Linked DNA regions of Homo sapiens: regions 1, 2, 3, 4, 6 and 7 are each linked to region 5. The links are contacts of gene promoters, found by promoter capture Hi-C in human tissues and cell types (Jung and others, 2019). All regions are on one chromosome and are shown on one strand. Each heading gives the region's core, a stretch centred on a gene start or on the middle of the fragment in contact. The rest is flanking DNA. Distances are from core to core; before and after follow the strand shown.

Region 1 (3,829 bases), core at 666-3,165, 200 kb before region 5:
GGGATTCCATGCAGAAATTGAATTCCTTCCATTTCTGTGATGCTGAAGTGAACATAATTGTATTTCCCTGGTACCTTGTTAGCAAAAATTTGGATTGGCTGGTTGTGTTCATTCCAGTACACTGCCAGCGTGGGCCCAGTGTGAACTTCCATGCAATTCCACTCTGTGTAGAAGGCCACTGTCACACATGACACACATAAGATATTTCACACATAAGGAAAATCTATCCCATAACCTTCTTTCTAATCATTCAAAACAAACCTTCCCAGCACCACTGTTCCTGCCCTGCCATCCATCTCTCCTCCACTGCTTGTTGTTAGCCAGCAGTGGAAGGGAGCAGTGGATTTGAAGAAGTCTTAATGGTAGCAACTCTGGTCACCGTCTTGATGACTTACTCATGTATTAGCTGCCTAATACTTGATTTCTGAAAATCTCCTTTCCTCTTAAGTAAAATAGGTATAATAATAGTGCCCACCTTGTGAGTATTAAGTTGGATAATACAGTGCTAAGCATAGAGCATATCACACACTTGTGCTTAATAAACTTTAGCAATTACTTTGTTATTCTATCATAATTTCACCATCCAATAGAAAGCAGAGACTGGAGGCAAAGACTTGGGACAAAAAAAAGCCTAAAAATAGATACGAACCAGAGAAAGCCGAGATAACACCACGGCAGGAGTTACAGACTATTCTCTCTTCACATTTATTGTCAAATCTGTCCTTGAAATGCCTACAGATCTTGGGTTTATGAACAAAGCTTCAGTTATTCATAATTCACAATCAAAATGTAGGCATTAAGACGAGGATAGAAAGGGATAGATAGTCATCTTCTCATCTGCCTTTGTATACATGGACAGAGGAGAAGCAGGATACTGAGATAGGTAAAAGGGGTGAGGTGTATCTCTCCACTTGCCCACCAAGACTACTCTTTACAGCATTGCTGATGGCCAAGAAAAAGGCTGACATTTTTCTTTCCTTCAACTTGGGAAACTAACAGATAATAGCCTATCATATGAGTGGAAAAGATTGGATGTAAATTTGATCTTCAAGAGGTGGGGGGTGGATAACTTTGGGGGAAAAAATGCAGTTTTTACATAACAGGTCTTTGTGTTAACAGAAAGTATACTAGATAAAATGCACAGCCTATTTGTTAGAGAAGTGTGCTGATTCCTGATGGGAACAGATGTAGGTGTCATGTAATACAATAAACATTTGGCATTGTCAACCGAGGGCACATGGTCTTGACCTCCAAGGTAAGCTTGGTCTTAGGTGAGCTTCTTCTCCATTAAGGGGAAAATGTGATTGAGTCCATACACATTCCTTTCCATTTCTTATTAAGGGTCCAAATAGGAGCTAATACAGTCCTTGGAACTATATTAGGATAATAAATAATCAGTGTTTATGATGCCACCTTTGTGTCCCAGCAACAGCCACAGCACAATGAGCTTGCACTTCTGCCTTCCCAGACGTGCTCTCCCCAGTTCTACAGGGAGACAGACAATATGTGGCAGGCTCACAAGAATTCTCACATTGGAGAATGAGAATTCTGCAAGTTAATGAAAGTTTTAATAAAGTTCATGGAAGTTTTAACTTGCAAATTTTTAACTTGCTTAAAAATTAAGCCTCTTAATATTCTAGAAACCAGTAGGTGAAAATCCCAGTGGTCCTTTTCTTAAGCGCTGTATTACATAATTAACAGGTATATGGAATGTTGGCGTATAGGTGCAAGGAAAATATGGTTTAAGCAATCACCTCTTGGGTCAACCTGCTGCAAGTAATCTAAGGCAAACGATTTGGAAAAATGATGCCTTTGACTGCAATTGAAGCATATGAAAATTGTTGACTGGAAACTAAAGGTTAGTGAGTACAAGAGCCTCAGACAGCAGAGTAAGATGCCCAGGCAGAGGAGGCAGGCCTGGCATCCATGGCAGCTCCTGGAACCATCTGCAGAAATGAAACTTGGAGGAAGGTGTGCCATTTGCCACCAGCAGTGTTTCCCATCCACCTGGCTATAAACCCTGGCCATCAACCTGAAATCTGACCGGAATCAGTAAGGGATATTTCATAGCCACAAAAGAGTTGGACTCTGCAAAATAAGGGTGTTTACTAAAATGGTATTTAGATTGGTGGAGCCATTAATAATTTCAGATGTTGGAATTTGTTCCAAAGGGAAGCAGTGTAGCTGACATCAGATGAAATACACAGATAAGGCTAGTGAGAAGGGGGTAGTGAGAAGGGTACTTCTGGAAACCTAAGCCTAGCATATGAATTTCTCTTGGAGGATGAGCAGGGCTCAACCTTTCTTTTCTGTTGTTTAGGTTGTTTGAAGTTGTAGTGCTCTGTCAGGAAAAGTCAAGTCTGGGAGGATGACAGCCTGTTGATTTCAGGGAAGGAGAAACAAGGAACTACCTTGCCTATCATGTGCTCAACATGTGCTTGTCAGTTTGTGTCCATTATTTCCTGTAATGATCACACCAATCTCATGCAGGTGGTATTAATATTAACCTATTTTATAGCTGCATAAACTGAGGTTTAAAAATAGAAGTAACTTGCCCAAGATCACCCTCCTATTTCACGGCAGAGCAGAGCTTTGAACTAACTCATGTCTGCCTGACTTCAAAGTCTATTGGCTTCACAACACTATTTTGACTTCCCTCTGTGATCTTTTCCTAAGTGTTTACAATGGGCAAAGCAGTGTCTTAGATCTTATGTCTATCTCACAGAATGTCCTCAACTCCCAGAGGGTAAAATAGAGGCTCAAAAGGGTGACATATCTATACTCAAAAAACTGGTACATATTATCGTCAGTGGTAGAATATTCTGTCTTTCTTGAGCCCTAACCTTCCTGAATTGAGAGTTGAATAAGAAGAAAGGGGAGTAATTAGCCCTCTTGCCCTGGGCCTGTACAATCACAGTAAACATTTGCACAGCTCTTTATAGTTAGCAAATCATTTTCACATACAATTATTTCATCTAAGCCTTGATTAACGCCTGAAGAAAGTAGTAATATTACTTTCACTTTCCAGATGAAAAGGAGGTTTGTAAAGGTTAAGTGACTCTCTCTCTAACACTTAGAAAGCCATGAAGGGCTGCATCTTTGGTGTTTTGACTATAGATCTCATTACCATTCCTTCAACATTCATTGTGTACTGTCTACATGTCAGCATTGTGATGAGGGCTGGGAGCAGAGAGGTGAATAAGGCACAGTTCTGGCTTTTCAGGAGCTCATAGTATAACAGGGGATGCAGCTGAACAAACCAGATAATTCCAGTAGAAGGTAGTAAGCCTTTACTCTTAGTTAACACAGCCATGGTATTCTGTCAGGGAACTTGGGAATGAGGCCCACTTGGCAGAACTATTAAGGTACTCATAGTAGGACTGACTCCTTGTTATCTAGACTTTGTCAACAGCAGTAATTTTGTTATGTGTGTGAAAAGTAAAGGGTAACTAAGTTACCACTGGGAGAAGCCAAGGGAGAATTGATTACTGGATGGAGGGACAGTTCTTTTCAGGGTTTCAAATATTTTCCTATTATTATCCCAAATGTCTTCCCACTTTCATGATCAGTACATCATGCTTTTCTCTTCCACAGGTTCCTCTCAGAAACTGTTATTAGGTACGGAGAAGGAAACACATGTCCTTGATGAAGTAAGAAAAATAAAAAAGACTTCGGAAGTTGAAAATAATGGCAAATGGGGAATGATACAGCTTTGCATGGGTTCTAATAAAAAAAAGTCTCAGAAGAGAAAAAAATAATATTTTCATAAAAATCCCTTTTGGAAGGCATCCAGACAGGCGAGGTCAATTCTAGCTTGGAGGCAAGCCGC
Region 2 (3,654 bases), core at 749-3,248, 170 kb after region 5:
TTAAACTTCAAGAAGATACCATCTGGTAAAAATATTTTATTTTTGAATAGTACTATTTGTCTTTTATAATGAATGCTACATGCCGCATCTTCATTTTACTCTAACCATGAAACAGAGGAGATGAGAAAACTGGGCATAGAGAGATTATAGAGTCTTTTTAATGTATCATAGCTCGTTGGTTTAGGAACCAGGGCTAGATCCAGTCTTCTAATTTCTAAACCAGAGAACACAAAAAGTCTGAAGGTGGGCTCTAGTTCTGGGTGTCCTGTTACTAGCTGTGCAACCTTGAATTAATCACTACCTGTGGTGCCTCAGTTTCCCCAGCTATATTATAAGGGGTTGGCATAGATTATTTCTAATATTCATTATGGTTCTAATGTTCCAAGACTGTTTTCCCTAAGAGAGGAAGTGTGACAACCTGAAAGAGAGACCATGCTGTTAAGGCATAGTCTTCTCAACTTTCTCATCCTGGGCTAATCCCCTTCTGTGTCTTTCTGTGAATCGAGAAATAATGATTTTTTTCTAAAAGCATCTGCTTTATCCTTTTTCCTGACATCACTTAATTATGTAGGTCAGTGCTTTTGGCATCTTCTTTAAGACTTCACTGCTATGGTTCCCATTTTTAGGGTCTCTTTTTCAAAACTATATTTGGCCCCTTTGTACATGTTAGAGTTCTATGTATTAGCAAACCCTTTGGACTCTCCTCAGTAGCAGCAACACTTGCTGTCTAAGGACTCATTGTAAAGATTTAATGCCACTTCCACATCATCTTCCATGACCTCATTAAGACTATCCAGTTGTATAAACCATGGAGTGTTGGGAATTTGAGGCCTATCAAGTTCAAGACTAAGGAAATCATGTCCTTTCTCAAATTAGACTCTTTTCCACACACTATCCATATCACTTCCCACCATCATTTTTCAATATTTTTCTTAACCTGGTGGCAGGGGATTGTACCAAAATCCCTGACACATTCCACCCTCAGCCTCAGTATCCTTGATGAGCTATAAAAGTGGGTGTTACATCCAGTGCATCCTGGATACACATTTACTTTCTGCTTTATCAGCTGCTGTATCATTTTGTGTTGCATGGAAGAAATTTAAAATGTAATGTTTTCTTCCAAGGACATGTAGTATTTGAATACCATATTCAAATACTATATTCAAATTTGAATACTATAATACAGCAAATTTGATTTATTTTTAGCTTGTTTGTATTGTATGGTTATCTGTGTGATGAACAAGCTGGAGTTTTAATTTTAAATTCTCTGTTGAGTTTCTGCTAAGGAAGAGAGTAAGATGGTCCATGACTGCCTTAAAGCCAGACACAGTTTTTTCACATGCAATAAATGTGAAGGAAGTTATCTGTTTCCATGAGAGACTGATTCCATCTGCATTAAGAGCAAATTGTCGAAGACATTCACCAATTTCCATCATGAACTTGAGAAGTCCAGGAAATTTCTCTACTGTTGCCTAGTCTGTATTTACTCCCTATTCTAAAAGTTTGGTGCAGGCTAGTCACTGCAGCATTTAAGGTAGCTAAATTGACCATGTCTGGAATTTAAAATTCCTTTAGCTACACTCTTATATTTACATAAACTGAGTACCTTATCTATTAATGGTCAGAGACAGCAAGTGTAGTAGAAAAGGCATTGAGGCAATTTATTTAGTCATGGCAATGGGACGTATATGGTGGTGATAGTTGCTCTCTCTCTCTTTCTATATGTGTGTGTGTGTGTGCATGTAGGGTGAGGGGGTGTAGTTGAAGGGGTACTCACATAGCAAGCAAGCAAAATCTGATAAAAATACCACTGAAATTATTGCATATCAACTTAGGTGTGTCCCCAGCCTAATTGGAACATATTATGCCCCAATGAGGAAATCTGGCAGCATTGAGTTCTTGGACTCCTTCCTCTGAGAAACTCTTTTGGTTGAGTCTGGTTGATTCCACCTGACAATCACCTTCACAACTCATGTCAGGAGGCACCTCTTTGGTAAAACCTTTCATGACATTTCCAAACTCCAGGAAGAACTAACAGCTTGCATCTCTGTGCTTAGTGTGTTTTATATACCGGTGATAAATACTATAAAGGATGTTTCCAAATCTATCTCTCCAGCTAGATTGTGTGTCATTGAGGGTAGCAATTCTGTTTATATTTTTTAATAGAGGCAGTGTAGCCAGTTAGGAAGAACCTGATCCTCAAAGCCAAACCCAATTTCAAATTAATTTCACTGCGGTGTGTTGTGTTGCCTTGAATAAAGTACTTAAAGCTTAGCCTCAGTTACCTCATATGTGAAATGTGTCTAGTAATGCCTTTTTTTTTTTTTAATGGAATCTTGCTCTGTCACCCAGGCTAGAGTGCAGTGGCACAATCTCGGCTCACTGTAACCTCCGCCTCCTGGGTTCAAGCGATTCTCCTGCCTCAGCCTCCCAGGTAGCTTGGATTACAGGCATGTGCCACCATACCTGGCTATTTTTGTATTTTTAGTAGAGGTGGGGTTTCACCGTGTTGGGCAGTCTGGTCTCGAACTCCTGACCTCAGGTTATCCGCCCGCCTTGGCCTCCCGAAGTACTGGAATTACAGGTCTGAGCCACTGCGCCTGGCCAGTAATGCCTAATTCTATAGAACTTTTTGAATAAGTACAAAAAGGTCCTCACATATTTCATTTCCTTGTATCTTAATTAAACACTATTGCCTACCAGAAACATAGAAACATTCAATATTCTGATGTTCTTGGACCTAGACTGTCCGGGTAACTTAAAGTCTGTTCTCCCTCTTCCAAAAGAAGTTACCGCCTTCTCAGTAAGGATGGCCTGACAGGGGCCTTGGTGATAGCCAGACTTCATCACTGAGTATTTTCAGAGAGACCACAGAGTCAACTGTTCAGGAAACTATAAGAAAGGATGCCATCTCTATGTAGAAAGCTAACTCAGATGATCTCATTCATTCAACAGATAGTTTTGGAGTACTTACTGTATGCCTGTCAACTGTGCCAGATGCTATGAAGATTACAAACTAGTGAATGACAAAGATTTTAAAGTTAAATTAATACAAAATTACAACTAAATAAAGTATTATGAAGGAAAGAAATAAGAGCTGAGATCCTGAGTTCTTTTCCAAATCTAACCTATATGATTCAATGTCTACATTTTCATGAAAGTAGAACATTGACCCACAAATTGCAAATGGAAATTCCAACATCCTTTGTAAATGTGTTCAACTCTACTTATTTAATCTTTTGTTCTATTCTTCCTGATAGCCCATCTAGTCAAAGTCTTCCTCTGGTGGCACAATCAGCATCCCGGCGTCTACGCAGATGTTGTTTCTTTTACCTGGAGCTTACTCCATTCCACAACCTAAAATGTTGTTCATCACCCAGAGCCTAGTTCCCCCACTTGTAAAATGAGCTGGTGAGACTAAATGGTCTTTAAAATTTCTTAGTTCTAGAATACTTTGGTTCATTTAACCTTGCCAGTGAAGGAAGAGGGAAGATTTTGTTCCCTTCATTTTTACTTCTAAATTGCATTTTCTGTGCTTGGTCATCATGATGTATTGTTTTTAGCTTTTCCTCGTATCAGAACTCCAAACAGAAGAAGCTGGAATGTAGGGCATGCATTACATGAAAAGTGAAATGTTTTGAAAGGGCTTTGAAG
Region 3 (3,748 bases), core at 652-3,151, 150 kb before region 5:
TTGCCATTTGTCTAACCTTTTTTCAAGGTTTTTAGCTTCCTTGTGATGGGTTAGAACATGCTCCTTTAGCTCAGAGAAGTTTGTTATTACTGACCTTCTAAAGCCTACTTCTGTCAACTTGTCAAAGTCATTCTCCATCCAGCTTTGTTCCGTTGCTGGCAAGGAGCTGCGATCCTTTGAAGGAGAAGAGGCACTCTGTTTTTTAGAATTTTCAGCTTTTCTGCTCTGGTTTATCTACTTTTGGTCTTTGATGTTGGTGACCTACAGATGGGGTTTTGGTGTAGATGTCCTTTTTCTTGATGTTGATGCTATTCCTTTCTGCTTGTTAGTTTTCCTTCTAACAGTCAGGTCCCTCAGCTGCAGGTCTGTTAGAGTTTGCTGGAGGTCCACTCCGGACACTGTTTGCCTGGGTATCACCAGCAGAGGCTGCAGAACAGCAAATATTGCAGAACAGCAAATATTGCTGCCTGATCCTTCCTCTGGTATCTTTGTCCCAGAGGGGCACCGCCCTGTATGAGGTGTCTGTTGGCCCCTACTGGGAGGTATCTCCCAGTTAGGCTACATGGGGGTCAGGGACCCAGTTGAGGAGGCAGTCTGTCTGTTCTCAGAGCTCAAATGCCATACTGGGGAACCAGTGCTCTCTTCAGAGCTGTCAGACAGGGACGTTTAAGTCTGCAGAAGTTGTCTGCTGGCTTTTGTTCAGCTATGCCCTGCCCACAGAGGTGCAGTCTGTAGAGGCAGTAGGCCTTGCTGAGCTGCGGTGGGCTCCACCCACCCAGTTCATGATTTCCGGCCTCTTTGTTTACACTGTGAGCTACTCAAGCCTTAGCAATGGTGGACACCCCTCCCCCTGCCAGGCTGCAGCCTTGCAGTTCAATCTCAGACTGCTGTGCTAGCAGTGAGTAAGGCTCCGTGGGCATGGGACCCGCCGAGCCAGGCACGGAAGAGAATCTCCTGGTCTACCAGTTGTTAAGACCTTGGGAAAAGTGCAGTATTTGGGTGGGAGTGTCCCGTTTTTCCAGGTACAGTCTGTCATGGCTTCCTTTGGCTAGGAAAGGGAAATCTCCCGACCCCTTGTGCTTCCCAGGTGAGGCGATGCCCCGCCCTGCTTTGGCTCACCCTCCATGGGCTGCACCCACTGTCCAACCAGTCCCAATGAGATGAACCAGGTACCTCAGTTGGAAATGCAGAAATCACCCATCTTCTGCATGGATCATGCTGGGAGCTGCAGACGAGAGCTATTCCTATTCAGCCATCTTAGAACGGACATCCTGTCTTTCTACTTTTTAAGAAGATACTTGAGAGATGGCTTAAATAACCCAGAAAGATTGTTTTCTCTTAGGATTTGTAAGTAGTCCAGTATGGTAGGAGCTATCAGAAGGCCCAGGGTGGCAGTGAACAGATGATGACTTGACAGCAGCAGAGCTGAGAGGTGGCTCATCATGGCTAAACATTATTGTGGTTTTCAGTCAATTTTCAGGCACATGGTTGGCACTGGGAACCAACATGATGGAGCAGGAGTCTGGCAGATGAATAGGACCCAGGAGCAAGGAATCCTGGCCCCAGATGATACTCTGATCCTAGAAAGCCAGACTGACTTGCAGTCAATATTCAGCCCTAGCCACTGGGTTGGGTTAGGGGGAGGAACCCCACTGACTGGAGAAGGAAAAGGCAGAAGCTGAAGAAAAGACCTGGAAAAACTACAGAACTTCTCAGAAGGGGGCCCAGAATGAAACCTCCAGTGTAGACTGGGACAGTGATAAATCTCCTGGTGATTATAAGGGCTAGGAGGGTATGATGAAGAGTGAGGTGCTATTATAGACTCAGGATCAAAAACAAGAACCTCAGGCTCCCAAAGCCGCAACTTCTCTAGGAATTAACTGCAGGAAGTAGCTGGGAACCCAGAACAAATGGTGAGTACTCCTTTGGCCAACCCTGGAACTGACTGAGTCAAGTTAATTCAAGAATAGAACCTGCAGCCATGGAAAGGCACAGAAGGCAAGGCTGGAAAGAAGCCTCAGGAGCAGGCAGAAATGGATCCCTTTACTAGTAGGAGAAATATACCAAGGGTGAAGGAAGGGACTTCCTTTGGTGGTCAAAGGATGCTTCTATTTCTCCTTCTGAGTAGACATTTAGCTTTGGGATAATGCTGATTTTGGAGTCTGATACAGTACTTCCTTTCGTCCTTTCAGCAGAAGACCCTGGGCAATGGATTATCTGAGCTTCAACTTTAAAAACTTAATAGAATAGGATTTACATACTTCCTAACAAGGGCATTGCAAATATTATAAAGTGTGAGATCTCCAAAAAATTCCAGTAGGATAAACATTTCATTTTTGCAAAAGCTGATGAAATTTGATAACAGGGTCATAGGAAATAAGAAATTCCTGGGTAAACTTAGGATAATAAAACATCCATTAGTGGCCATGCCTGTCATTCCATTATTACCTTCTTAAAACCCCAGAAGCACTGGGAATGGTCTCTTTGAGACTGGGCTGGACAGGATGATCCCATACATGAAGAAACTGCTAACATGGTGGTAGTGGGTGGCTCTCCACATAATCTCACCTTGCCTTGCCCAGCTCAGGCGTTGTCTTGCTAAGGACCCCATTATACTCTGCCCACCCTCTCAGGCTGATGTCTGCCCCACATCCAGCCCCCGCTTTTTGTCTTTCCTTCCTGCGTGGCCCTTCTAGAAATGGCCTGCCTCCCAGACTCCCTGCCCCCTGGCCCAGCACCATCCCAGCCACCACATTGACCTCATCCCAGAGATTCCTTAAGTCCAGGATCTTCCTTTGTTCTTTGACAGTACCTAATAGTACTTGGCACTATTTAAAGGTATTTTAAATATTTAAAATATTAAAAAGATACTTAAAACCCTTATTATATTCAACGCAATTCTGGTTTCAGTCTTCTTTTTCCTAGGAGTGAATACTAGTAGGATTTCACAAATTATCCTGTCTTTAATATATTGAAAAAGTTTCTGAGATATACCTAGGGTCAGAAGTCTGAGAGCCATGGGGAGCAAGGCAAAAACCAATTATGCTACCTCTGTTGTGTGGGCAAGTCAGTGAGATTAATAAAGCCTCCCATGCTGTATTCCGTGGGTTGTTATAAGGATCAGACTGAAATAAGAAAAACAAATGAACAAAATTATTTTGCAAGCTTTATTAAATTATAACATAAACCTAAATATCATCTAGAAATGTGTTTCTGTGGAACATCTGTTTTGCAAGGGGCTGGATAAGTGAGATATCACTGTGTTTGAGTCTGTTTTTTAAATAGTTTGGGACTTATAAGAAAACCCTCTGAGCTTCTCTAGCAAGGCTGAGCCTGGCCACAAGCCACTCCTGCTGCAAACTGGAATACTAAAACCCTCTTGATGGCAAATATTGTTTTATAACCCAAACCTCAGCCAGTCTTCTGCATGACAGTTCATCGTTGTTGCTACTGCTGGTTAACTTACAGGTTTTCAAAAAGGAACTGTTTCCTATTTTTCATATCAAGACATTTGGGAACCCCTCCTCCCTGTCTCTCCTCTGAGTCTTCACCTCCCCTGCCTACCCTGTGCAGCTCCCCCACAAACAGGAATGTGTCACTATAAGCATCCAATAAAGAAAGCAACATGTGCCCTTCAGAAACAGGTTTATCAACTTGAAACAGTACAATTCAGAGCAGAAAAGCTTCCTTTTCAAGTGTAAAGTAAACGCGTGCCTATTTTTCCAAGAACCAGATGGTGCCATGGTTC
Region 4 (3,676 bases), core at 271-2,770, 230 kb after region 5:
TTTGATCTATTACTAATTATTCCACAGAGGTAAGACTATCCTGTGTACTCTTCTTAATTCATTGTGAATTTTCACATTTTCCTATGGTGATAAGGGCAGATACTCTTCCAGGTCCTGTGTAATTGCCACGTACTATTATCATTAAACTTTTCCAGTAGTTGTTTCCCTAGCTTGGTTGGTTTCTTTACATGCATGCACTGATCAGTACTCTAATGAATACTCAAGGGGGACACTTTGCTAGTCCTTGGACTTCTTCCTTTGTGCAGCTATGTACTTCCTGGTTCTCTGTCTTGTGAACTGTAGCTACGTTGGTCTCCCTGGACTCTTAGCTTTGTCTCTTCAACTCAGGGAGTCCCCTCAACTCTACCTGGATTTTCTCTTCATGTGCTATGGACTGGCAATCATCACAAGGCAGAAATCTGAGGTAATTGTAGGGCTCACCTTACTCATTTTCTGTATCTGTGGGACCCTTTTTCTCTGTTCCTTAATATCCAGTATCTTAAAAAATATTGTTTCATATATTTTGACTGGTTATATTGGTTTTTCCATAGAAAATGGTAAATATTGTCCTTATTATTCTGCCTAGGTAGGAAGTGCAAGTGTTGTTACACATTATATTTAAAAGCAATATAGCAGATGCTGAGAGGGTTTGAACAACTTATAATGACTCCAAATATTTGTACTACTCTAGCGTATACACCAGATTAGACATCATCCCTTAAACACAGGCTTACTAGAGCAATGAAGCAAATGATTCTTATTCACCAGCCTCACCCATGAAACAGATTGAATAGAGAAGGAAAATTTCTTAAAGAGGTGCTAAGAAGAATTAAAGAAACACCGCTCCCCACCAAAAAAGTTCAGGTCAATATTCCTTCATTTTTTGTAGTTTCTACAGAATTACAGAATGTTCATGACTTGATACCATGGAGTTGACCTGCATCTAAATTATTATAAAAGGAGTAACTTTCACTTTATCATTTCAAGGAACAGATAGCAAAAATTCTGCATGTTGTCTTTTTTACTTTCTATTGAGGCTTGTGGGTCCTTAATGTATTTGAAAGAGCTTATTTAAACCTCTCTGGTTGTCTCCTTGTGAGGGGTAAGTAGTCCTGACTGTATCCTAACCAGCTTAAGTGTTTACCACAGTAAGCAGGGGTTTTCAAAGCTACTTCACCATCCCAATCCATTTCCCAGTATAAGTGAGTTCTAGAGGGAAGCTCATACACTAGATGATGTCCTTGCTCTGGGATCCGTAGAGTGATTTGCGGTTCCTTACAGGAGAAGTTTCAGTGAAGAGTTCTGTCGCCCTTAGGCATACATTTTAGGGGTTGGACTTCCTATTTAAGGGCAATTAAATAAGGGGCCTTACTGTTTTAATTGGATTTTAGGTAAGCTATTCCTGTGGACAGTTTGTCAGTGTTTGCTATGGCCAAAGCTTTTCATTTACATTTGATATTCTTGTAATCTTGTGCTAGTCCCTCACCCCTAAAATAATTATCTTTTAAGTTCTCTGCCTTCCCAGATGGCAAAGTCATTAGCAAAGCTCTTGAGACTAGCTCGGTCATTTTGAGCAACAACAATTTTGAATCACGTACTTTAAATTGGGTCTATAGAGAGGACCTTGATTTTTTAGGCCTGGGGTGCTCTTTGATCACTTTTTCTGCTTCGGTTGGTTCATCATGTTTTCTTTCATTCATCTTCCACCAACTCAAGGATTTGTCTAGTGTTCAGTACAGAGGGGTAGGATTAAAAATGGCATAGTCCAGCAGAGTGGAACTGAATTAGAGGGGGCTGGGAGAACCTGATTAGTATGCTAAGTTGTGAAATGCTGTCTACTTACAAAGGTATAATTTGTATAACAAAATGGTCATTAATGTCCTTGCCACCTAAACAGTTTTGAGATGGCCTGTTAGAGAATAAGAGAATGTGTGAAGGATAAAGGAAAAGGGTTGTTGTCCCAAAGTGCACTGTAGGAGAGAATCACCTGATCCCATGAGGAGGTAGTGAAAAAAGGCAAGAAACTTTCTATTTGAGTGTGCCCTGGCGAGTTTTATCCATTACCTAATTATGTTTCCTCTACCCTAAAATATGAAGAATAATTTTTATTCCACTTCCAAAGTGTCTTCTCTCTCAAAATTATCCTCAGTCAAATAACTGCATTTGCTAAAACCAACTGGCATTTGTAGTACGCTGGCAAGAGAGTCACATATATTTATCTTTATTTTTAATGAAATTTTCATGATTTCTCTTTTAAATTCTATGTGAAAACATGCACGTTAGTTTCCTATTGCCATTGTAACAAATTACCACAAACACAATGAAGATTTATGATCGTTCTGGAAGCCAGAAGTTTGAAATAAATTTTAATTGGGTTAAAGTCAAGGTGCCAGCAGGATTGGTTCTTTCTGGAGACTCTAGGGGAGAATTCATTTCTTGGTCTCTTCCACCTTCTAGAGGCCATTTACATCCTTGGGTTCATGGCCATGTTCCTGTGTCTTCAAAGCCAGCTGCATAGTATCTTCAAATCCCTTTCTCCCTATCTTTCTTCATCTGTTATCATATCACCTTCGGTCTCCCTCATCTCCTGCCTCCCTCTTAAAAGAATCCCTATGATTACACTGGGCCCACTTGGATAATCCAGCATAACATCTTTATCTCAAGATATTTAATTTAATCACACCTGCAAAGTCTCTTTTGCCATATAAGATAATATTCACAGGCACCAGAGATTAGGATGAAGGCATCTTGGGGGGCCATGGTTCAGCTTACCACACACGGTATTTGGAGAAATGGGAAATATACTCAGGAGTGTGCTGGCTCAATATGTACCTTCAGGTAGCACTCTAGCCTTTTCCCACATGACCTCATTCTTTTACCTTATAGCAAATGCCTCACAGAATCAATTGTATTCCCTCTCTAAAAATAGAGCTCGGAGTACCATTTGTTGCTTGACATTGTTTACTGTTTACTTCATTTGCATGTAGTTTTGCTACTTATTAAAATGCTTACATTTTTTCTGAGATTCTCATTCATTTACTGACTTTTTTACAGTATTGAACATCTTTTATAATCCAAATACTACATTAGGCAATAGATATGCAAAAATATATAAAACATGGCCCTAACCTTTAGTAGGCTTATGGTCTAGAGGAAGAAGTAGTTTTAGGAAACTTCATTTTGCAAATGAGAAAACTGAGGCTCAGAGGGTAGTTAGGTGGCTTACCCAAGGTTTTTCATTCAGCAAATAGAAAACCTGGATCCAACTACAGATTTGATTTCAGAGAAATGACTCATTTAGTAAAGTAACTATTCGGAATATTGCTGCATAAAAGATAGGAAGCATCTCAGCTCCGAGTGACTTCTGATGAGAAATTTGAATGTTTGTCAAACACTTTGTGAATCTGATTCCGACTTCTCAGAATCCTATTTACTCTTACACACAATTCTAATAATTCATTTTCTCATTCAATGGCCCACTGGAAGCAGAAAGTAAGACTAGGTATGTGTTGAGGGTTGGGGAAGGAGGTAGGTGGAGAGAAGAGGGGCAGACAAAGGGAGAGCAGTGGCAGAATAGAGAAACCTGAAAGCTTAACAGTGAGTGAGAAAAAATGCTGCTGAAAACCAATAGAAGCAAGGATAGCATTTTCAGAGTTTTTATAGGTAATACCTCACC
Region 5 (3,895 bases), core at 1,052-3,551:
TTTTTTTTTTTTTTGAGACGGAGTCTCACTCTGTCATCCAGACTGGAGTGCAGTGGCACTATCTGGGCTCACTGCAACCTCTGCTTCCCGGGTTTAAGCGATTCTCCTGCCTCAGCCTGCTGAGTAACCGGGATTACAGGCGCTCGGCACTACGCCCGGCTAATTTTTGTATTTTTAGGAGAGAGGGGTTTCACCACGTTGGTTAGGCTGGTCTCGAACTCCTGACCTCGTGATCTGCCCGCCTCGGCCTCCCAAAGTGCTAGGATTACAGGCGTGAGCCACCGCGCCTGGACTCTCCCTACATTTTTCGTTTTTCATTTTCCCTGGTAAAACGTTTAAAAACAATCATAGTATTTCTCAGTGCATTTTGTTAGAACTAAGAGTGCCTATGCAAACACTTAAGTAATGCTGCGGGTGCAGCCTCTCAAGCACCCAAACCCTAAAGAGAACGTCTCTGTCTCTGCGCCTAGCCCTTTATGCGGAACTTGAGGACACCTGGTTCTTCATTCCTCAGAGTTGGCCACCTTTCTCTGGTGTCCAGGCCAGACTTCCTCATTCAGTTCCTGTAGCAGTCTGCTAATGCATTGGGTGGATCGGCCCTAGGCCGCTTTTGGCTAAAAACACCCAGGGGCGCCCAGGCCGGAACTAAGGAAGCAGGGTGAAGACCAGGCGTCTTGAGCACACCAGAGGCTCTCTCTGCGGCTTGCTGTAGCGTGGCCCGCGGGGCCACCACTGTGCCCGGACCCTGTTTCCAATTGTTTCTATGTGCAGTTTGATTTGTATGTCTATTCTTTGAGAGTCTGAAATAGGCAACGTTTTGTGAAAATCATAGAATGCTGGAGGGCCCCCCGGTTCCACGATTTCCAAATTTGAAGACAAAAATGGTAACCAGCAACTACTGACATAGAAAGCAACCAGCCTCATTTGAGAACTTACAGCTAAGTTCAGACTCTTGCAACCTCGAGGAGAAGAGGGAGTATCTGTACATATCTGGCCACATGTCACCTGGGATGAACAGGGTGACCGGTCTGTTACAGACTTGGGGGCATGGGGATACAATTGCAGTCTCTTTTTAAGGCACTAGCGAAGCGAGATTTTCATGGGTCGCGAGGTTGGTCGGTGAGGATGGGGAAGGGAAACTGGACTTTTCTGGGCGTTTAAGAGCCAATAGGGAGAGCTCCTCTAAGGTGACACTGGCCTCCGCACTGAAGCTCGCGCCTCCCGGATGCAGCTCGCCTGTGCGGGATCATGCGGGGCTGGATTTCAGGTTTCACCCTTAAAGGACATTCCCTTTGCTTGGCCCGAGTTTTCCCAAGCCAGCCGGGCTTTTGACTCTGCCAGTCTCAAACCCATTTGCGGTAGAGGCAACAGCAGGGGGCAGAGAGCAGCTCCAGCGTCTGGGGCCGGGCGTTCTCTCGGGGCCTCCCGGTCGCGCCCGGCCTTACGGTGCCCGCGTGGAGAGTGCAGCCTGAGCAGCGCCAAGTCCTGCTCCCTGTGCCTGGTGCCCTCCCTCAAGCCGTCATACGCTGCCCGAGAGAAGCCCTTCCAACCCGACTCAGCATCTTTAACCTGCTGCTTTCCCAAACAGCGCTGGCTCTCTGAGTTTGCACCCCGCTAAGACCTTTTCCCAGCCCAGCCCCGCCGCCCCGCGTGCGGGATGAACCGAGCCGGTGCCTAGCCGAAGTAAAGAGAGTCCGCCGCGGACAGAGTCCCTGCCTGAGACCGCAGGGCCTCGGAGTGTCCCCGGACCTTGGAGCCTCTCTCCAGCGTCCTCCTTGGCTATGCCCTCGGCCGAGACCCGCTTTTCTCATCTGGTTTCCCCTGTGACTGGCCCTTCCTTTGAAGTCTGCCATCACCTCTCCTGGTCCCAGGACCTTGTCTTTCTGGCCGCGGACGGGCTCTAGCTGCCCTACACGGGTCCCCGCCCTCTGTCCCGGGCACACACCCCCGTGGGCATGCGCCCCTCACTCACTGTCCTGCTGCGGGGTGTCGCTGCCGCTGGTGAGTCCCGGCGACTCCAGCAGGCTCCGGCCAGCCTCGCCCACGTTCTCATCCGCCTGTGCCGCCACCATGTCCCCGGCTTCCTCCAGGTCTAGCAGGTGACTGACGGAGAAGTTCTTTTTCGCCTGCAGGGTGTCGAGGTTGCCCGGGCTGTCCAAGCGGCCGCCCAGCGCCGGTTGCCGCTCCAGAACGTGCCCGTAGCTGGAGGTCATGGTCTCCCCCACCGATCCCACCCACCCCCCTCTTCCCGCTCGAATCAACACCAAACGCTGTGGGCGCGAGGGGGGAGAGGAGCCGAGTGGGGAAGAAAGAGGGGGGTAGTGGAGAGAGAGAGAGAGAGAGGGAGGAAGAGGGAGGGAAGGAGAGGAAGGCCAAAAAAAAAAAATTGGAAAAGAGGGTGGGGGACCCCCTTCTGTAGAGCAGAGCGTTGTGCACCAGCCGCCTTCCGCAGCATTGGTTGATTTCCTGAGGCCAAGTCCGGCGCGGTCCAAAGAGATAATCCACAGTAAAATACAATATTAAAAAGTCACCCTATGTTCAAGTCAGGAGAAAAAAATCCCTTCCAACTCTCCAAAAGTGTCCACACGCACAGACTAAAAATAATAACAAGGGGGAGAGAGGAAAGCGGAGGCCAGCAGGGCGGGGGAGTTAGGCAAACAGAAGAAGAGAGAAGAAGGGGTGGGAGAGAAGAATCAAAGTGAATGGTTTTTTTAAAGGTTAAAAAAGTTATTCCCAGGCAAGAGTTCAAGCACCAACAGAAGAAGGCTTGTTCCAGCTTTAAAACATCTTCAAGAAAACGTGTTCCCCCCTCTCTGCACTCCTGTGGATTCTCAGGAGTGACTAAAGTTTCAGGAGGAGAGGGTGATGTCTTGCAGATGTATTAGAGAGCAGGATTCTCACTTTACTTTTTGTAAAGAGTAAAAAAAAAAATTAAGAATTAAAAAAAAAAGGCTTCAAGAGTCCGACGGAGGGTGCTGGTGGGTTCCCCCCTTTCCCCTTCTCTCTCTCCCCCTCTTCTTGCTGGGCTCCTTTTTCCTTCTCAGTTGGATCAAGAAGCTCTCTGGCACTTCAAAAGGCACAAACTGGCATGCAGAGGAGGCTTTGTAGGGAATACAAGAAAATTGGAGACCCCTGGGAGGGCAGATCTCGACTTAATAGGAGCCTGTAATTACGTGGCAAAGCCTTTGTGCTGTGCCTGACGTTTCACAGACCCCCTTTCTCCATCACAATCTCCTTCTTCCTCCTTTCCCTGGGACCAAAAAACAGTCTGATTAAGAAAACCCCCTTTGCCAACATCAGAGTTAGAGAGAAAGGGAGAGGGAGGGAACAAGAGAGAGGGAGGGAGAGAGGGAGGGAGGGAGGGAGGAAGGGAGAGAGAGAGAGAGAGAAAGAGAGAAGAGAAATGAGAGAGGGAAGAGAGCAAGAGAGCCCCTTTGGATTTCTAAAGGTCTAATTATCATTCCCCTGCAATAATATCACGGGGAGAAAAGACAAACTGAAACTCACAGTCACTTCAAACGTGCTGATTATTTTGCTTCGGCATTAACTCCTCCAGATTTGTTTAAGATCCTGTTGGAAAATCTCATTTGCATGTTTTGATAACAGCTGTGGGGAAATTTGGAAAAAATCCACCACCATCACAATCAAATTTTCTTCTCCTTCTGCCTTCCCCCAAACCGCCCCCCCCCAAAAAAAAATTTTCTGCTGTTCTAACAGTTTGGGGCGGAGTACAGGGAGAAAGTAAGCATATTAAGGCTATTTTTGGTTCCGTAGAGGGAGCCTATTAAATAATGTAATAAAAATAACAAAAGGGATGATAATAGGAAGTTCTCTCACGCCTCTCGCAAGGACTAAAGGCAGGTTGGGGAGATCCAGAGGGCACCGAGTTTATTTG
Region 6 (3,667 bases), core at 579-3,078, 190 kb after region 5:
ATGATGAAAACTACAAAAACTATTGTAACAAAAACAAAAATTGACAATGGGACCTAACTAAACTAAAGAGTTTCTGTACAGCAAAAGACACTATCAACAGACTAAACAGACAGCCTACAGAATAGGACAAAATATTTGCAAACTTTGCATCTGACAATGATGCAAAGTGCTTGGATTACAGGCGTGAGCCACTGTGCCCAGACATCTTGCCCCAATTTCTAATGGGCTAATTAATTAAAATATAACTTCCAAGCAAATCATCTTGAAATAAGAATCATAGTATTAGTTTGTCCTTGTGGCTCATCTTTTAAGCAGAATTTTTATAAGTAAAATTCTAGAAAAGTAGGGGCCGCATATAAATAACTTCTTCCTGTATCCTGTAACCTAAGCCAATATTGCTTTCTAGAAATCTTTCACAAGGAACTGATACAAGTGTGGACAAAGCTTTATGTGTAGAGGTGATGACTGGAATGTTATTTCTAAAAATGATAAACTGAAAATCTAAATACCAAACTATAAGACAAATTTTTATTAAAATAATAAAGGATCATAGGGATCATTAAGCTAGAAAATTTCTGCAAATAATTACTGATGGTATGCATCAAGTGCTTATAAATGGTACAGGTAGAGAAACAGGCATCAAATAATACATAGAAAAAATCTTGAATATGAATTAGAAATTTGATAAAATTAGGAGTAATTATAACAAAATTGGATGACAGATTTATAGACTTTTAAATAGATTTTTCTTTAAAATCAGCATCATTGGAATATAAATGACATACAATAAAATGCACATATATTAGGTGAACAATTAATAAGTATTGGCAAACATATAAACTCATATAACAATCACTTGAATTGATAAAGAATATTTTTATCACCCCCAAAATTTCCCTTATGCCCATTTGCTGTCAGCATCCCTTCCTTTACTCAGTGAAGTATCTACTGACCTTCTTTCTGTCACTATGTATGTCTTGCCTATTCTAGATGTCATATAATGCAATGTGTAACAGTATAATGGAATACACATACAGTATAACAGTATGTACTGTTTTGTTTTTAACTTTCTTAAGTCAACATAATATTGTTGAACCTTAGCCTTGCTGTTGCATATGTCAGCAGTTCATTTCTTTCTTTCTTTTTTTTTTTGTTCCTTTGGCTAAGTAGCATTCGTAGTTTGTTTAGCCTTTTATCTGTTAATGGAACTTTAGGTTTTTTCCAGGTTGGAACCATCATGAATAAAGCCGTTATGAGCATTTGTATACAGATTTTTTTTGTGAATATATGTTTTCCGTTTTCATGGGTAAATACCAAGAAATGAAATCACTGGGCCAAACGGTAAGCATACTTTAATTTGACACATATTGCTAAACTCTTTTCCAAAATGATGCATCTTTTACACTTCCATCATCAATGTATAAAAATTTCCCTTACTTTTTATTCATAACAACAATGAATACTGACAGTTTAAATACCTTTAAGCCATTCTAAATGCCTGTCTAGTAATATCTCATTGTGGGCTTGATTTTTGTATTTCCTTGATTACAGATTATATGGACCATCTTTCCCCCTATTTATTTACCATTTATACATTTTCTTTTGCAAGCAATTGGTCAAATCTTTTGCCCATTTTCAAAAAATTGGGTTGCTTCTTTTCTTATTATAGAGTTGCAAAAATTTTATATGTATATATTTTGGATACAAGCCTTTTATCAAATATATGTATTACAGATATCCCCCCACATCCCTGTCTATGGCTTGCATTTTAATTTCCTAATTTTCTCTTTTGGAGAGTTAAAAAAATTTTTTGATAAAGTCAAATGTATTGTTTTTTCCCTGTTATGTTTTAAAAAGTTTGTCTTCTTGGTCAGTCTAGCCAGATGTCTATATTTTATTGATCTTTTAAAAATAAGTATCTTTTAGATATTTGGTTTTTCTCTGATTTTTTTCTTCTCTATTCCATTGAGTTTTGCTCTTGCCTTTATTATTTTCTTTTTTTCTATTTTATGCTTAATAGTATAATTGATTTCTAGCTTCTTAGAATGAAAACTCAGATCACTGATATTACATATTCTTTTCTAATACAAGCATTAAAACTATAAATTTATCTTCAGGCAATCACTTAGCTGTATCCCATAAATTTTGATATGTTGTGTTTTCGTTTTCATACAATTTGAAATATTATCTTATTTGCCTTTAGATTTTTTTCTTTCATTCATGGGTTATTGAGAAGTATATTGTTTAATTTCTAAGAATATGGAGATTTTTCATATGTCTTTGTGTTATTAGTTTCTTATTTAAATTTGTTGAGGTCAGAGGGCATACTACATATGATTTGAATCCATTCAACTTATTTAGACTTGTTTTATGTCTCAGCATATGGTCTATCTTGGTAAATGTCCAATTTGCATGTGAAAAAAGTCTATCCTGCCATTGTTGGTATATGTCAATTAGGTGTCACATTGGTTGATAATGTTCAAGTTTTCTAGACTGATTTTCTGTCAACCTGTTTTATTACTAGGAGAGATGTGTTATTACATCCAACTATAATTGTGGGCTTTTCTATTTCTCCTGTCATTTTTATTAGTTTTTATTTTACGTATTTTTTAAGCTGTATTATAAAGTGCATACACATTTAGGATTGTTACATCTTTTCGATGAATTGGCTCTTTTGTCATTATGAAATGGCCTTGTTATTCCTGATAGTATTCCTTGTTCTGAACTACATTTTGCCTGATATTAATATAGCCATATAAGCTTTCTCTTTAGTGTTTCTGTGGTATCTTTTTCTATTCTTTCACTCTTAACCTCTGTATATTCTTATATTTAAGGTGTTTTTTTTTTTTTAGAAAACATAGAGTTGTGTTTTGCTTTTTTATCCAATGTGACAATCTCTGCCTTTTAATTGAGATGTTTAGGTCATCTAAACAGTGTAATTATCAATTGATAATTGATAATTATTGAGTGTAATTATCAATACAGTTAAGTTTAATCCTTTCATCATATTTGTTTACTATCCTAAATATTTCTTCATTTTTCCTGTTTATATATTTTTACCATTTTCATGGCTTTTTGGGTCTTAATTGAGTATATTTAAATATTCTATTTCCTTTTTTTTGCTTATTATCAATGTGGTCTTTTTTTGTAGTGATTACTCAAGTTTTATAATAAGCATCTTTAACTTCTTTAAGTCTGCCTTCAAATAATATACTACTTCATGTATAATGTAAGACTCTTACTACCATACAACTTTATTTGCATAAAATTATGTCATAATTGTGCTAATATTGTCATAGATTATATTTTTACACACATTAGCCTTCAATACATTGTTGTTACTGTTCTAAACAGATTTTAAAAAGTAAAGTAAATTACAGTTAAATAAAGATTTCTCATATTTATCCACATATAGCATTTTCAGGGCTTTTCATTTTTGTTATAAATCCAAGTTTCCATCTGATATTCCTTTGGTCCTAAAGAACTTCCAAACACATTTCTTTTAATTCATGTTTTCTAGTGACAAATTCTCTCAGCTTTTGTTTGTATTTAAATGCTTTTAGGTCATGTCCATGTTTGATGGATATTTTTTCTGTATATTAGCTTCTAGGTTGACACTTTTTATATCCAGCACTTTTAAGGCGCTGTTTCATTGTATTCTTGCTTT
Region 7 (3,994 bases), core at 112-2,611, 210 kb after region 5:
CTTAAAACTAAGCCTAATTATTAGAATATAGATAGCCAAATATTTCTGGAGACAATAGGGCAAAAATATTTTAGAGTTTTAAAATGTCTGTAACTTTAACCAAGAAATTATGCTTTTAGAAGTCTACTCAGGAAATACAACTTGAAATGCTGGATACATTTTAAAAATCATTTTGATGACATTGGAGAGGTATAAGCCAGTCAAAAATTGAGAGTTCAAGATTGTCAAGATGACAAAAGAACCAGGAGAGGAGCCTGAAAATTGGTGCTACCTTTCCTATCCAGGTCAACAAAATTGAGAAACTGAGGGCTGCTTTTGGCAGTTCCATGGGACCGAGGGGACAAAAATTAGATATTAGAATTTGTGAATGTGTCAGGGACCTGGTAAACAACCAGGTTTTCAGTTGGGATCCCTAAAGGGATACAAATTGGAATTAATAATGAACAGAATAAGTCCTTCCAGTGACTGAAACAAACTGTCATATCAGTTTAATCCCTTGTTATATTAAAGCAATCTTCCTAGGCTAATAATACACTGAAAACAAAATAAATACTCTATGGAGGGAGATAACATCATCAAAAGCATAAAGGTATTGCTAAAATATTTCATATACAATGTTAGCATTTAATAAAATATTACCACACCTTCTAGGAGGCAATGGCAAATGCTAAAAACTTAAGAGAAAAAAAAACAGGAAAAAATAAAATAAAACAGACCTATAGGAGAGACATTTATTAGAGTTAGCAGACATGGACCTTTAAATAACTTTGATAAATATTCTAACTAAAAGGACAACATGAAGAGAATTGTATAGAACTGGAATCTAGAAAAACAATGAAATTGGAATTCTAGAGTAGAAATGCAATAACTGAATTTAAAAGTCAATTTAAAAATCAGTGTGTGGGTTTAAGAGCCAATTAGACACAGCCAAAAATAGAATTAGTAAATTAGAAGATAAGTCAGTGAAAATATTCAGAAAAAAGTATAGAGAAACAAAGTAAAGGAAAGCACAGAGGATAAGAGACATATAGGAAATAATGAAAATATCTATCAAATGTGTAATCACAATTTTAGAAGAAGAAAAAGAGAGAGAATGGGGAAGAAGCAATATTGGAAGAGACAATGGCTGATAATTTTCCAAAACTGCTGAAAAACATCAACACATAGATTCAAGAAGAGTTATGAATTCCACATAGAAAACTATGAAGTAAACCACACCATAATAAAGGAACATCATAATAAAGCTCCTAAAAAACAAAGAGAGAGGGTGGCTGGCAAGATGGCTGAATAGGCACAGCTCCAGTCTGCAGCTCCCAGCGAGATCAATGCAGAAGGCGGGTGATTTCTGCATTTCCAATGGAGGCACCCAGCTTATCTCATTGGGACTGATTAGACAGTGGGTGCAGCCCATGGAGGGTTAGATGAAGCAGGGTGGGGTGTCACCTCACCCGGGAAGTGCAAGGGGTTGGAGAACTCCCTCCCCTAGCCAAGGGAGCCATGAGGGACTGTGTCATGAGGAACGATGCACTCTGGCCCAGATACTGTGCTTTTCCCATGCTCTTTGTTACCAGCAGACAGGAGATTCCCTTGGGTGCCTATGCCACCAGGGCTCTGGGTTTCAAGCACAAAACTGTGCAGCCGTTTGGGCAGACACCAAGCTAGCTGCAGGAGTTTTTTTTTTTTTTTTTTTTTTTTAATGCCCCAGTGGCGCCTGGAATAGCAGCTAGACAGAACTGTTCACTCTCCTGGAAAGGGGGCTGAAGCCAGGGAGATGGGTGGTCTAGCTCAGCATATCCCACCCCCATGGAGCCCAGAAATCTAAGATCCACTGGCTTGAAATTCTTGCTGCCAGCACAGCAGTCTGAAGTAGACCTGGGATGCTCAAGCTTGGTGGGGGGAGGGGCGTCGAACATTACTGAGGCTTGAGTAGGCGGTTTACCCCTCACAGTGTAAACAAAGCTGCCTGGAAGTTAGAACTGCAAACAACTTGAAATGCTGAGTAAATTTCAGCAGCTCGTCAAAGCTGCTGTAGCCAGACTGCCTCTCTAGATTCCTCCTCTCTGGGCAGAGCACCTCTGAAATAAAGGCAGTAGCCCCACTCAGGGGCTTATAGTTAAACTCCCATCTCCCTGGGACAGAGCACCTGGGGGAAGGGGTGGCTATGGGCACAGCTTCAGCAGACTTAAACATTCCTGCCTGCAAGCTCTAGAGAGAGAAGTGGATGTCTTAGCACAGTGCTCAAGCTCTGCTAAGAGATAGACTGCATCCTTAAGTGGGTCCCTGATCCCCATGCCTCCTGACTGGGAGACACCTACCAGCAGGGGTCAGCGGACACCTTATACAGGAGAGCTCTGGCTGGCATCTGGCAGGTACCCCTCTAGGATGAAGTTTCCAGAGGAAGGAACAGACAGCAGTCTTTGCTGTTCTGCAGCCTCTGCTGGTGATACCCAGGCAAACAGGGTATGGAGTGGACCTCCAGCAAACTCCAGCAGACCTGCAGCAGAGGCCTGACTGTTAGAAGGAAAACTAACACACAGAAAGGAATAGCATGAACATCAACAAAAAGGACGTCCAAAGAAAAACCCCATCCGAAGGTCACCAACATCAAAGACCAAAGCTAGATAAATCCACAAAGATGAAGAAAAACCAGTGTAAAAAGGTTGAAAATTCCAAAAACCAGAATGCCTCTTCTCCTCCAAAGGATCACAACTCCTCGCCAGCAAGAGAGCAAAGCTGGATGGAGAATGAGTTTGACGAACTGACAGAAGTAGGCTTCAGAAGGTGAGTAATAAGAAATTCCTCCAAGCTAAAGAAGCATGTTCTAACCAAATGCAAGGAAGCTAAGAACCTTGAAAAAAGGTTAGAGGAATTGTTAACCAGAATAACCAGTTTAGAGAAGAACATAAATGACTTGATGGAGCTGAAAACCTTAGCATGAGAACTTTGTGAAGCATACACAAGTATCAATAGCCAAATTGATCATGCAAAAGAAAGAATATCAGAGATTGAAGATCAACTTAATGAAATAAAGCATGAAGACAAGATTAGAGAAAAAAGAATGAAAAGGAATGAACAAAGCCTCCAAGAAATATGGGATTATGTAAAAAGACCAAACCTACGTATTATTGTTGTACCTGAAAGTGACTGAGAGAATGGAACCAAGTTGGAAAACACTCTTCAGGATATTATTCAGGAGAACTTCTTCAACCTAGCAAGACAGGCCAACATCCAAATTCAGGAAATACAAAGAACACCACTAAGATACTCCTTGAGAAGAGCAACCACAGGACACATCATCATCAGATTCACCAAGGTTGAAATGAAGGAAAAAAATGAGTGAGTTTCTTAATCCTGAGTTCTGATTTGATTGCATTGTGGTCTAACAGCAGATCTCTCAGCAGAAACCCTACAAGCCAGAAGAGAGTGGGGGCCAATATTCAACATTTTTCTTTCTTCCTTTTTTTTTTTTTTTTTGAGATGGAGTCTCGCTCTGTCACCCAGGCTGGAGTGCAGTGGTGCAATCTTGGCTCACTGCAAGCTCCGCCTCCCGGGTTCATGCCATTCTCCTGCCTCAGCCTCCTGAGTAGCTGGGACTACAGGCACCCACCACCAAGCCTGGCTAATTTTTTTTGTATTTTTAGTAGAGACGGGGTTTCACCATGTTAGCCAGGATGGTCTCGATCTCCTGACCTCGTGATCCTCCTGCCTGGGCCTCCCAAAGTGCTGGAATTACAGGCGTGAGCCACTGCACCTGGCCAATATTCAACATTCTTAAAGAAAAGAATTTTCAACCTAGAATTTCATGTCCAGCCAAACTAAGCTTCATAAGTGAAGGAGAAATTAAATCCTTTACAGACAAGCAAATGCTGAGAGATTTTGTAACAATCACACCTACCTTACAAGAGCTCCTGCAGGAAGCACGAAATATGGAAAGGAAAATCTGGTACCAGCCACTGCAAAAACATACCAAATTAGAAAGACCATCGACACTATG

Evidence for each region. The method cuts DNA at HindIII sites, captures the fragments that hold promoters and counts their contacts. A contact is called where the count stands out against the background at its distance.
Region 1: a fragment that was not itself captured here is called in contact with the fragment with the promoter of PRRX1 in region 5 in 2 of the 25 tissues and cell types used here (aorta and neural progenitor cells).
Region 2: a contact is called between a fragment that was not itself captured here and the fragment with the promoter of PRRX1 in region 5, in 5 of the 25 tissues and cell types used here (H1 embryonic stem cells, liver, mesendoderm cells and 2 more).
Region 3: a fragment that was not itself captured here is called in contact with the fragment with the promoter of PRRX1 in region 5 in 2 of the 25 tissues and cell types used here (aorta and ovary).
Region 4: a contact is called between a fragment that was not itself captured here and the fragment with the promoter of PRRX1 in region 5, in 2 of the 25 tissues and cell types used here (liver and mesendoderm cells).
Region 6: a contact is called between a fragment that was not itself captured here and the fragment with the promoter of PRRX1 in region 5, in 1 of the 25 tissues and cell types used here (H1 embryonic stem cells).
Region 7: a contact is called between a fragment that was not itself captured here and the fragment with the promoter of PRRX1 in region 5, in 3 of the 25 tissues and cell types used here (H1 embryonic stem cells, aorta and mesendoderm cells).

The regions. Positions count from the first base shown.
Region 1 is chr1:170,864,452-170,868,280 of GRCh38, reverse strand. No RefSeq gene overlaps it. Among named protein-coding and RNA genes, the nearest start is that of MROH9, 69 kb to the left of the region's middle. The HindIII fragment of the contact is 3,866 bases long and covers 1-3,829 here.
Region 2 is chr1:170,495,246-170,498,899 of GRCh38, reverse strand. All of the region lies in intron 1 of GORAB-AS1 (GORAB antisense RNA 1), which reads left to right. Among named protein-coding and RNA genes, the nearest start is that of GORAB, 35 kb to the left of the region's middle. The HindIII fragment of the contact is 9,877 bases long and covers 1-3,654 here.
Region 3 is chr1:170,808,268-170,812,015 of GRCh38, reverse strand. All of the region lies in intron 1 of LOC124904454 (a long non-coding RNA gene), which reads left to right. Among named protein-coding and RNA genes, the nearest start is that of MROH9, 130 kb to the left of the region's middle. The HindIII fragment of the contact is 4,513 bases long and covers 1-3,748 here.
Region 4 is chr1:170,435,883-170,439,558 of GRCh38, reverse strand. No RefSeq gene overlaps it. Among named protein-coding and RNA genes, the nearest start is that of GORAB, 94 kb to the left of the region's middle. The HindIII fragment of the contact is 7,035 bases long and covers 1-3,676 here.
Region 5 is chr1:170,662,537-170,666,431 of GRCh38, reverse strand. It overlaps PRRX1 (paired related homeobox 1), which reads right to left and starts at 2,301. Exons shown (of 4, transcript NM_022716.4): 1 at 1,973-2,301. The coding sequence starts at 2,213. RefSeq lists enhancers at 808-1,668, 2,869-3,396. The HindIII fragment of the contact is 17,405 bases long and covers 1-3,895 here.
Region 6 is chr1:170,475,096-170,478,762 of GRCh38, reverse strand. The region is part of intron 1 of GORAB-AS1 (GORAB antisense RNA 1); the gene reads left to right. Among named protein-coding and RNA genes, the nearest start is that of GORAB, 55 kb to the left of the region's middle. The HindIII fragment of the contact is 4,040 bases long and covers 1-3,667 here.
Region 7 is chr1:170,455,812-170,459,805 of GRCh38, reverse strand. No RefSeq gene overlaps it. Among named protein-coding and RNA genes, the nearest start is that of GORAB, 74 kb to the left of the region's middle. The HindIII fragment of the contact is 6,792 bases long and covers 1-3,994 here.